4 separate regions of the Homo sapiens genome follow, and all the other regions are linked to region 1. The links are contacts of gene promoters, found by promoter capture Hi-C in human tissues and cell types (Jung and others, 2019). All regions are on one chromosome and are shown on one strand. Each heading gives the region's core, a stretch centred on a gene start or on the middle of the fragment in contact. The rest is flanking DNA. Distances are from core to core; before and after follow the strand shown.

Region 1 (2,817 bases), core at 132-2,631:
AGTTTCGCCATGTTGACCAGGTCGTTCTCGAACTCCTGACCTCAGGTGATCCACCCGCTTCGGCCTCCCAAAGTGCTGGGATTACAGCACTTTGAGCCACGGCGCCCGGCCTGCAAATTAGTACTTATATACAACCCAAGTCCTCTGGCTATCTAGACAGTCTGAATTTTTTAGCAGGACTTTACAGAAGTCCTGCTAAAGATAAACAGCAAAACAAGTATTTTTACATTAACCAAATATTTTTATCTTCAAAACAATTGTTACAAAACAGAAATTTCACACAATACTAGTGAGGACAGCCTAAGACAGCTTAATCATTCACATTTCCTCTATGGGCTTGGGGTTTTTGGAAAAAAAAATCGTAGCTGCATAAACTTGGTGTAAAATTTGAAAAAGCCACTCATGCCACAATCCTCGTTTCCCTCTGCTAATGTGATCCAGATGGGAACGCTGAACGACGTAACTGCCCCATCTGCACCTTAGATTTCATTAGGGTCCTGTTCACTCTGTGCAATTAGTTAAGTGTGCTGACCATCAAATATTTACCAGGAGACAACATGTCCAGGTCAAAGAAAGGGCGTGAGAATAACATTTTAGAAAGAGTTGCACTGCAGCCAAGACTAACTCTGGGCTGCGGTCCACACTCGCCCCAGCCGACTCCTCTCATTTCCTCTCTCCCCTCTCCAGTGAGCCATTCCTTCCTGGAGTCAAAGACGGTGCAACAGGCAGGTTCCTACCTTGGTCTGCACACTTTTATCGAACTTGTCATTTTTGAAGCTAAACGTATTCTGGTGCTTCTGAGGTCTGGAACGAGCCACGTTGCCTTTCTGGGAGCTCATCGCCGAAATCAAAGCCACCCCTCGCCGGGAGCAGGCAAAAGGATGAGGGGAAAGAAAACCAACGAACTACTCCCAGGAATTGACGCTTCTGTCAATGACCCGGAAGAAACAAACGCAGCCTTTCCGCCCCGGCTCTGGGTCAGCCCACGTGACTCTTCTGGGAGGTCAAAGAGCATCGCTCTGCCCTCCCTGCTGTTAAGCCAAGCCACTCCACGCGGCGCAGCCTCGACCCCTCCGGCTCCGCGCAGCCTCTTTCTCAAACCCGGAGAACAAGTCCCACTTTCTTCGAAATGAGAATTCCCCCATTGGCCCGAATGTGTAGTCCATCAAATCAAAGGGGCGGGGAACCTTTGTTCCTATTGGTTCTTCTTTTCCGCAATCCCCGCCTCCTGCTGAGCGAGCTCAGCCTCTCCTTGAGCTCAGAGCGCCTCCCACCCTGCCGGGCGGCCTCTGATTGGTGGAAGTGAGGCAAGGCTGGGCTCCGTCTCTCCCCCCGCCCGCTAGTAGGCTGGAGCCGGGGTCAGCTTTGGCACCTTCCTCCAGTCAGTGGCCAACTCCTGGCTCAGTGGGGATTGTGCTCGTCCCCTCCGTTCCCCTCCAGTCTTCCTCCCGCTACCGGAACGAGCCTCGCGCTTGGCAGGCTGAGGAGGAGCAAAGAAAGCAGGATTAAAGAGAAGGAAGACCTGGCTAGGTCTGGGTGGCGTCTGCAGTGCCAGAAAGGGAGGCGGTGGCGGCGGCGGCTGCGACCACGGCCGCGCGGGACGTGAGGCCCGAGAGCAACCGACGGGCAGCGGCGGCCGCTCCAGCGCCCCGCACCGGGGCCGTTAGTCAGCAGAACGCGAGCTCTTGTGGAGGAGCAGGGCCGGCGCGAGGCGAGACTCGGGAGCGTGAGCGGGGCCCCTGGGGCGCCGCCGTCCTTCTTCGCCCCGGCGCCGGGGGCTGTAGCCCTGGTCCCCGCTCCTCTGTCGGGCCAGTCTGCAGGCGGAGAGAGTCGGACGGCGCCCGGAGCGCGGATCTCGCCTTGTGGAGGACAGCGCGTCGGCTGCGGTTCTCTCTCGACCCCTTCTGCCCGGCGCTTCGGCCCGGGCCGCTCAGGTGCAGGTGCGTGCGGCCTCGGGGTTTGGGGACGCCGCAGCCCGGCTCGGGGAGGGGGCGCTAGGCCGGGAGCCGCAGCGCGGGAGGGACGAGCCCGGGCCGGCGGGGGGAGGGGAGCGGGAAGCGTCTTTGTTGTTGGCGACCGGGATCCCTTCTCGGCACAGGGGAAAGGCGGGGAAGCCACTCCTCATCGGGTCTGTGTTTTTGAGAGGATTCTCTGATGGTTGCGTGAAGGGGAGCGGTAGGACAGTCCCTGCGGTCCGTGGAGCGGCCGGAGTCAGGGGGTGGGGGAGGGAGGACCGACCGACACTCTAAGAAGGTCTTTGGTCCTCCTCGGTGAAGAGAAGGGTTCCATTTCATTTCCTTTGCTTTTCTCTCAGTGGATGAAAAGATGGGGTCAGGTTCCCATTCCCCTCACTGGCGCACTGAGAGATTCGCGGGTGCCTAAAAGCTTTCTCCTGAATGTCCTTATATCTCTGTCGGGCGCGATTTTAGATTGAATCTGCACGGGGCTTGGCGATTTGTGTATTCCGGTGGGGCTGTCGTAGGGTTCTTTTTCTTTAGATGGTTGGGCTTTAATCTTATTTGTTTTCGAACTCTAAGGTAGGCTTATCAGGAATCGTTTTTGAATTGGAAAATTTAAAGGTTTTGTTTGGGATTTTTTTTAACCCCGAAACAAAGTTATGTCAAATTAGATTGTACTGTGTGGGGGCTCTCGTGAAGGAAAGAGTGTATTTAACCTGGGGTTTTTGTTTAAAAAAAAAAAAAGTTCAGATCTTTGATCTTTGGTGAGATCTCTGCCAATGCCAGAAGAGAATTTTTTGTAAATGATGCTTTAAGTCAGTGTGAAGTAGATTTGGTAAGCAAAAGGATGAATAACGGA
Region 2 (2,711 bases), core at 119-2,618, 1.2 Mb before region 1:
TAAAAAGATTTGTCATCAGAGGCATGACACAAGTAGTCACTTCCCCTGGTGCTCCCTTGCCTGGAATTGTTCCTGGTGAAACAAAAAATTACCCACCCAGTGTGACTAAAAGAATTAAAAGCAATAGAGAATACAGACAGGGTAAGCTATGATTAATTGCTTGGTAAGATGAAACTTTAATCCAAAATATACATGAATCCTGGTATTTAATGCTCAGGGTTTTTAAAAGGTAATCTTTGAGGTTTTAACACACCTTCAAAAGCATGGCTTTAAATATATTCTTTTGCCTTCATAAGAATTTCCGCTTATGAGTTCTCAGTAACAGCAATAATACTAGAGAAATTAAATAATCTAATCAGGCATAAACTTTCCAATGTCATCAAATTTATCTAGCATGAACAGTTTTGATGAGATCTAATTATAGTCCTAATTACTGAGAGTTGCCTACAGATCAATATTTTCCTGCTTCTCTTTGGCAACAAGAAAACATGTTCCTATAGAAAAATAAAAATGTCAGAAAGCATTGAACTGAGAAGAGGCAGGAGAAAGCATCAAACTAGGAAGAGCCAGGACAAAGCTGTGAATCAGTACAGAGCCAAGATTGTTGTAAAAGTTTCTAATAAATCTGAGGGATGATTCAAGGATACAAATGGTAGAATGTATGGCAAAGTTGGTGATTTGGAGAGGCAACACAAGAAAGAAGACATTTTCTACTCAATTATATTATTCAGGATAAGATAGATTATATTGTGGTAGTGAAATGAACCCTGAAATCTCATCAGCTTAATATATAAAGCTTTATATCTTGTTCACCCAAAGTCAGCTGTGATTTGGTAGCTCTCAAGAACAGCTCCCTTTCCCCTGTACCACAGGTATCAAGGCAAAGCTCTTGTAGCACCACCGTCAGCAAGGGTTGGTTTAAGAGTTGTGTTGAGAGAAGAGGGAGCTAGGAATTGTGTCAAGGGAGGTGTGTCTGGACTCTTCCCAGGTGAGGATGTAGAGGGGCAAGTGGACTGAGGTACAAACCGTAGAACTCACCAAATATCCCTATGCTCTTTTCCACATTTCCCAGTCTCCATGTAGTTATTTTGGGACAACAAGACTACCCTGACCAATGGGATATGAACAGCAATAATATATCACCTATGAGATGAGGCATTTAAGAGGCGGTGTGAGTTATTTCTCTTCCCTTGCCATGGTGATCACTGCAGTCCCAAAAGATAATGCTAGAAGATTTAAAAAGAAAAAAAAGAAAAGGACCTGGATCTCCAAGTCACTGTTTGGAAGGAAGCTGTCCTAGAGAGTTACTTGAACCACAAATGACTTTGTGTGGGCAAGAGAGGAGTAAATTTGTATGCAATAAGCCCTGAGTGTTGAGATTTGTTTCCATAGCATAACCCATCTGTCTTTACTGATATCCTAGTGAAGATGAGTGCTTCAGAACTAAGCTCTCCTATGGAGGATGTTCTGGAGATCTAAGTTTCCTAGAATCCTACTGTGGTTTAAAAGAAAAGGGCATTACAACCCAGGTATGAGCATTACATGATTATATGAATAAGAATGAGATTACGTGGTTAGAAATGTGTCTATCCAATTTAAAAGTTGCAGTACATTTTCAACATAACAGCTAATTTTCCCAACAACAGACTTGATCTTACTCCTAATCATTTTCTCCTCTTTTCCTTTAGAATCTACAAAAACCCTGCTGAGGTTATTTTTACCCCATGGTCAATAGGTGTTTTCCTAATAGACCTGAGTGACCATTTTTTTCACAGTACAGAATAAACTTTCATCCATCAAGTTTTTTTATTAAAGAAGATCTTCCCAATTGTAAAATTCTGCCATATAGAAAATAATTTCAAATATTTTTAATTGAGCATGAAATAGATGGCACAAATTATTGATTCATTGTCTCATTGCTACATAAAAGACACTGTTAGTATGTTTTAATGTGTTTGCTTCAGATGTGTATTCAAATAGTCCAGAAGTAGAAAGGGCTTGATTTCTAAAACTGGAAACAATCCATACTAGATATTCCTAGCAGAAACAAGGCTCTAAAACGATTTTAATAGGCCTGCAGATTTTAGTTTAAATAGAACTAGTACATGGTTTGAAAATACTTAAAGGAAGATAAATATCCTTGCCTCTGTGAGGGCCAAACCTCATGACTGGGAAAAGTGCAGTCAGAGAAACCATGAATTACATTTATAATTTTGCTGTGAATCTTGAATCCCTTAGTTTCAGTCAAGATATATGAAGTCAGGTTTATGACTAAGAAAGCCACTGTTTCTCTTTCATGCAATGAATCAGAGGGAATAGGCAGTTAGCTAGAGCTAAGCATAGATTAGCAGAGACAGAAACGCTGAGCTGTCAAATACTTCAAAACCAGTAGCAGCAAACAAAATATCCAAGTGCTGCTCTAAACTTATAAGACTATTACAAACCTAGGAATTTTCAACACCCAAAGCAACATAAGTCTTAAAGGTATCTTTTGGAATATGAAAAACCAGAGTCATGCTATAAAGTGATAATAATAAGATATTTCTTTCTTATTTATAGTTCTTTAACACTTGCTTTTAAATATAGTATTCTTTTAAACACATTATCCCTTGCTATAATACAAGAAAAATGACAGATGAATACTTACAACTTCTCACATTACTCACATGTGAGAATTTTTTTCTTGTTTGTATGGCCTGGAGTAGTGAGTG
Region 3 (2,700 bases), core at 182-2,681, 1.4 Mb after region 1:
ACAGCAGTAATACTAAGTACATTGCTGCCCGGGCTTAGGGAGGGAGGCAGTGAGGGAGGAAAGAGGGGATAGAGGATCAAGTTCATTGTTACCCTAACCCCCACTCCCAGCTTTTCTATTTTCTTCTGGATCCAAAGCTTTTTCCTCCTTTGTCTAGAATTTAAAGTGCAATTCAACACATACTTATCGAGTGTTTATTTTGTGCCAGGGCCTGTCCCTAGAATAATACTAGTAGCAAGGTTGTTCTAGTGAAGTGAAATCTGGCCCTCACACCCATCAGAAGAGGAAGGACAGGAAAAGGGAAAGCTGTGTATGGAGACAGGTGGCAAGGCGGGAGGGGAGGGCTGCCAGAATGAAGGATGGACAGGCCTGAATATGGGTGGGTGTTTTAAAGTATGACAAAGCAGACATCTGGAACGGGGCTGCTTTTGCATTGCCCTTTCTACGTTGACTTCAAGCCTATTTGCAAGAGGAAAAAAATGGCAAGAATGCACAACTGCCCGCCCCAGGAGGGATGGAACTGCACCTCAGCCTTCTTTAAAGGTTCCTGTTTCCCCGCTGCTGTGGCAGGAGCAGAGACCAGCAGGAGGTGAGCAGGGCACAGAGGGGCCTCACAGAGAAACAGAAAGAGGATAATCAGGGCCTCCTAGGCAGTGGCTTTGAATCCTAATTTGTTGGGTGAACCTCAGGCAAGTTTCTCAGATTTGTGCCCATGAGTCTCTGCGCTGTCAGCTATTAACTGGGGAGAGTCTACCTATTAGTAGAACTATTGTGGGATTTAAGGAAATAATATCTCCCTTTGCTTGGCAGACACTAGGTATTTAATAAATAGTAACCATTGTTATTATTAATGTAAGTACTATTCAGAGAAAGCTGTTAACCTGGTGTCAATTAAGAATTTGCACCAATGTGACCTCTGAAATGTTTTCTTGCCCACGTATTTTCACAATTTATTTACTTAGTGAATGTCTATGGAGCACCTGTTTGTAGCCCTGTGCTCTATTCCAGGCACGGCAGGAGGCACTGGGGCAACAACAGTCTTGTCCTGGAGAGCTTCCTCACCTTTCCAGGGAGGGCAGTTTACACAGGGCAGCAAACCCTGGGTGGCAGACCAGCGCTTCCTCACTGCCTACCTTCTGTCATGTTCAAGCTTGTTTCCTCTAGGTCCAAGATCATCTCTATGATTGTGACCAGCCATCCCATAGGAAAAGAAGCTTCCAGAGATACTGGGGAACAAGGATTGTTCAGGGACAGCCCTGATGTGAGACACTTCTCAGAACTGTTCTTCCAGAATGTAAACACCCTTTCCCTTTCTCACTTCAGGACCAGAGCTCCTGCCAAGACTTTGAAAAACAAGTTACACAAGCACCTTTGGGGAGGTTGGCCATGCCACACCACAGCTGTAGCTACATGGGAGAGGAGGAGGGAGCTGGCCTCAAGGACTTAGTCAGGGACAATACTTCCACCCCTAAACACAAGTTCACAGGTCCAAGAGTCCAGTAGAACACAAGCCCTTGGACCACCACACCATGCCCCAGCCTGTGGCCCAAGGAGTCAGTCACTGAGGATAATTTCGCAGACTCCCCTGCCACCATCACTGACAGATCCCAGAGTTCAAAGAGTAATCAATCGCCTGTCATTAGAGCCAGTGCTCAGGCCCAGGTGGGGCTTTCTTGGAACTGGTCACTGGGATATCTTAAATTCTTTTTTTTTTTTTTTTTCCAGACAGGGTCTCACTCTGTCACCCAGGCTGGAGGGCAGTGGAGTGATCATGACTTGCTGCAGCCTCAACCTCCTGGGCTCAAGCAATCCTCCCACCTCAGCCTCCCAAGTAGCTAGAACCACAGGTGCACGCCACTATGCTCAGCTAATTTTTTAGTTTTTTGTAGAGACGGGGGTTTTGCCACGTTACCCAGGCTAGCCTCGAACTCCTGAGCTCAAGCAAACTCCTGGTCTTGAGGAGTTCCTGGGCTCTTTCTACCTTGGCCTCCCAAAGTGCTGGGATTACAGGCCTGAGCCACCATGCCTGGCCTTAAGTTTTTTCTTCCCTGGGGAGATCACCTCCCTTCACTTCCCTGACCAGACCTCCCTCACAGAAGGCCCTATTTAAAATTTTGGCAGCAAAGAGCCTGTCTCAAAAACACTTCTCTCCCAATTGAAGTTATTTGCCAAGGGCTAGTGCCAACTCCAGCCAGTCGTAGATGGAATTTCTCAGGCCAGAGTGTGCCTGGGGCAGTAAATGCAAAACCTTAAGGATCTGACCTGGACCAAGCTAAATAAATCCAGGGACTGGGCATGTAACCAAGATCTCAGAAGGAGTAAATGAAGGGGAGTTCTCAGAGAATTAAGCAAGAGTTTGCACCAACCCACACACACCTGGTGGGAGCAAAGACCTAACAGAATGACATTTGTTGATCACACATAATGTATCAAGTACTTTACATACATTCTCTCATTTCAACCCCACAGTAATCCTGTAGAGTAGGTGTTGATATCATCCCTGTTATAGATAAGAAACCAAGACTCAAAGAGCTTAAATAACTTGTCCGAGATCATGCAGCCATGGACATGGCAGAGCTGGCACTTAAACCCAAGTCTATCCAAGGTTGAAAGCCCAGATTCCTTTGATTACACTATTCTGCCTCCCTGTATGCAAGAATCTTCTTTCATTTTTAAAAAAGTTTTTTCAAAAGAAAATGT
Region 4 (2,700 bases), core at 53-2,552, 1.6 Mb after region 1:
CTACACTTTGGCAAATTTTGATGTAGTATTAAAGAATAATATCCACAATTACCTGAAAAGTCTAAAATACTCCTCCTTTTCCAACTGCATATTTATGGGAAGCCAGATTTCCTTCATATACTTCAACTCAAACATCTCACTACAAACTCAATATACAGAATTAAGTAGGGAAAAACCTACTGACTTCAACTAAAGAAATCTGCAAAAATGTAAAACGCCACTCTTCTCACTAAATGTATTTTGTCTGGAAAACAGCTATTTTTAATACATTTTTATGTTAACACATAATGGGTTTATTTTTAAAATGAATTACTGCCCCATCTCCACCTAAAAAAAAATAAATTAATGAATATTTTAAACATTCTCAGTTTTAATTTCTAATATGGTAAATATCAATAAATACAATCCATGTAAACAAAACCTCTTCAAGGTCCTCATTAATTTTTAAGCATATAAAGGAGTCCAGAGACTGGAAGAACAGAAGAACTTGCAACACTCAAGATTCATCTCCTTTTGCCCTATGGAATAAAATTGTGTTTTATGCAGTAAGATTAAAGATTAAAGAGAAATTACTACAAAGCGTGCTTGTGGAAATGCTGTTGTTATTACAGTGTATAATTAATATTCTCCCATACAGTAATTTGTGCTCTCCCCCCTGAATAGGCTAAAAGATACCTTCCTAGTTTGGAACTGATTTTTTGTTCCAGTTGTCTTTTCTTGGTTTTTCTCTCAAGAAGCTCCTTCTTCTTTTGTCTAAGTTCATTGTCTTTGTGCTCCAGATGTTTGCTTGTTTCACGTAAGGCAATCAACCCTGAATCCACTGCTTGCAATTTTCTATGAATTTCCTATAAAATATTTAAAAATTGTTAACATATTTAAAAAACTGTTCCAGTGAAACTATTAGAAATCCAGTTAATATTCTTTTCTAACATTCAGATCAAATTAACCAACCTTTAGCTGTTCTTCTAAGTGTCTTCTCTGCTCTAGGTCCACAGTGACAGTGAGAAACTGCGCTACTTTTAGAGATGTGTTACTAGAAATAACTTTGTTTGAATAAAAAGAAGTTTTCACCACATACTTTTCTTCTGCTGTATAAATCTGTTTTAATCGGGTTTCTTGTATTACCTATAACGTAAAACAACTATTAGTGCACATCTAATATAAATTATATGTTTTAAAGTACTAAATTAGAAATACAGACCAAGTGAATTTTGGAAGATCAAAATATACGAGATATACATTTTTTTTTTTTAGACAGGGTCTCACTCTGTCACCCAGGCTGGAATGCAGTGGCACGAACTCAGCTTACTCCAGCCTCAACCCCCCAGGCTCAAGTGATCCTTCCACTTCAGCCTCCTGAGTAGATGGGACTACAGGCATGTGCCACCACGCCTGGTTAATTAAAAAAAATTTTTGTAGAGATGGAGTTTTTCCATGCTTCCTATGGGGGCGCTGGTCTTGAATTCCTGCCTCTGAGATTCTCCCGCCTGGGTCTTCCAAAGTGCTGGGATTACAGATGTGAGCCACTGCATCTAGCAATTTTTTTTTTAACCTATCCAACAAAATTTCAAAAAAGGCGGCCCATACAACTAGCAAAGTCAGCTATACTTCTACGCTACTATACAACTCTCCCAAGTAGTTTTGGAGCTTTGTTACATCTAAAGAAGAGATAGCAGGAGAGAAGAGTGCTCAGCACATTGAACTGTTATCTTGGGTAAGTCATTTACTCTCCCCTCCTCTCAGTTATACTGTTCAAAGATACATAATCTTATATTTAGTTCCTGTATATTTGGGAAGAATAATCAAATGAAACATTTTTCATAGATTTCAAAGCCTTTTCTTATTTTTAAAGTTTTTTAGAACTTTTCTCTGAAGAATTTATACATGGATTTCATAAACTAAAATATATTATAAATACCACAACCATACCACTATTTGATCTATTTCTGTATATTTATAGAGTAGGCTGCTGCAATGCAGAGCATTTTTAGAGGTTGTTTCCAATCTCTAAAAACCTTCAGATACTATTGTAATACTACTGTAGCTTGTTTCCTTCCAGAAGTTTATAGTCTAAGTGAAGAAGTAAGACATATTTAAGCACACTAGGTCAACAGGGCATAAATCCTACAATCCGACTAATCTGAAAAAAAGGGATAGACTGGATGACTTTAGCCTACCCAAGTTTCCTAAAAATGAGTTTTAAACTGGATTTGAACTGACAGAGTGAAGGAAGAGCACTTCCCATAAAAGTGACATCTCAAGCTAAAGAAGTCAGCAGACAATTTAACCAAAGGGAGAATCTTAGAAATTAATGAGAGAACAATTCCATAAATAGGATATACTGTTAGATAACCTAAAATGTTAAGAGTTAATAATAAAAGAAAACATAAAGAGTATACTTTTATTCTGAGGAAGAGATACAGCCATTATTGCCATTATCTAGCCATTATTGTCTCAAACAGAAGGATTGAGGATATAAAGGTAGTAAATTTCCTCAATAAAGGTTTATATCTTCTGAAAGATAGCTAAGATAATCTTTACTAGGTACTTGAAATACTTTCTAACTTGGGTTTTCTTGTACATACAGATGTCTGAAAAGTATATCATCATAAATTATTTATATACAACATAGAACTGAGTTAGGCATTGGGACAGTAAGGTATTTGATATGTTTGAGAATTTAAAAAATATAGTATATAA

What was found. The method cuts DNA at HindIII sites, captures the fragments that hold promoters and counts their contacts. A contact is called where the count stands out against the background at its distance.
Region 2: a contact is called between a fragment that was not itself captured here and the fragment with the promoter of ABHD17B in region 1, in 1 of the 25 tissues and cell types used here (lymphoblastoid cells).
Region 3: a fragment that was not itself captured here is called in contact with the fragment with the promoter of ABHD17B in region 1 in 1 of the 25 tissues and cell types used here (dorsolateral prefrontal cortex).
Region 4: a contact is called between a fragment that was not itself captured here and the fragment with the promoter of ABHD17B in region 1, in 1 of the 25 tissues and cell types used here (lymphoblastoid cells).

What each region holds. Positions count from the first base shown.
Region 1 is chr9:71,909,757-71,912,573 of GRCh38, reverse strand. It overlaps ABHD17B (abhydrolase domain containing 17B, depalmitoylase), which reads left to right and starts at 1,381. Exons shown (of 4, transcript NM_001025780.3): 1 at 1,381-1,940. C9orf85 (chromosome 9 open reading frame 85) reads right to left here and starts at 935. Exons shown (of 4, transcript NM_182505.5): 1 at 738-935. The coding sequence starts at 839. RefSeq lists enhancers at 668-727, 738-787, 858-1,167 and a silencer at 1,618-1,857. The HindIII fragment of the contact is 8,289 bases long and covers 1-2,817 here.
Region 2 is chr9:73,115,842-73,118,552 of GRCh38, reverse strand. No RefSeq gene overlaps it. Among named protein-coding and RNA genes, the nearest start is that of ANXA1, 35 kb to the left of the region's middle. The HindIII fragment of the contact is 6,511 bases long and covers 1-2,711 here.
Region 3 is chr9:70,477,814-70,480,513 of GRCh38, reverse strand. The region is part of intron 3 of KLF9-DT (KLF9 divergent transcript); the gene reads right to left. Among named protein-coding and RNA genes, the nearest start is that of KLF9, 65 kb to the right of the region's middle. The HindIII fragment of the contact is 4,412 bases long and covers 1-2,700 here.
Region 4 is chr9:70,316,939-70,319,638 of GRCh38, reverse strand. SMC5 (structural maintenance of chromosomes 5) reads right to left here. Exons shown (of 25, transcript NM_015110.4): 14 at 952-1,125; 15 at 676-845. Among named protein-coding and RNA genes, the nearest start is that of SMC5, 59 kb to the right of the region's middle. The HindIII fragment of the contact is 6,146 bases long and covers 1-2,700 here.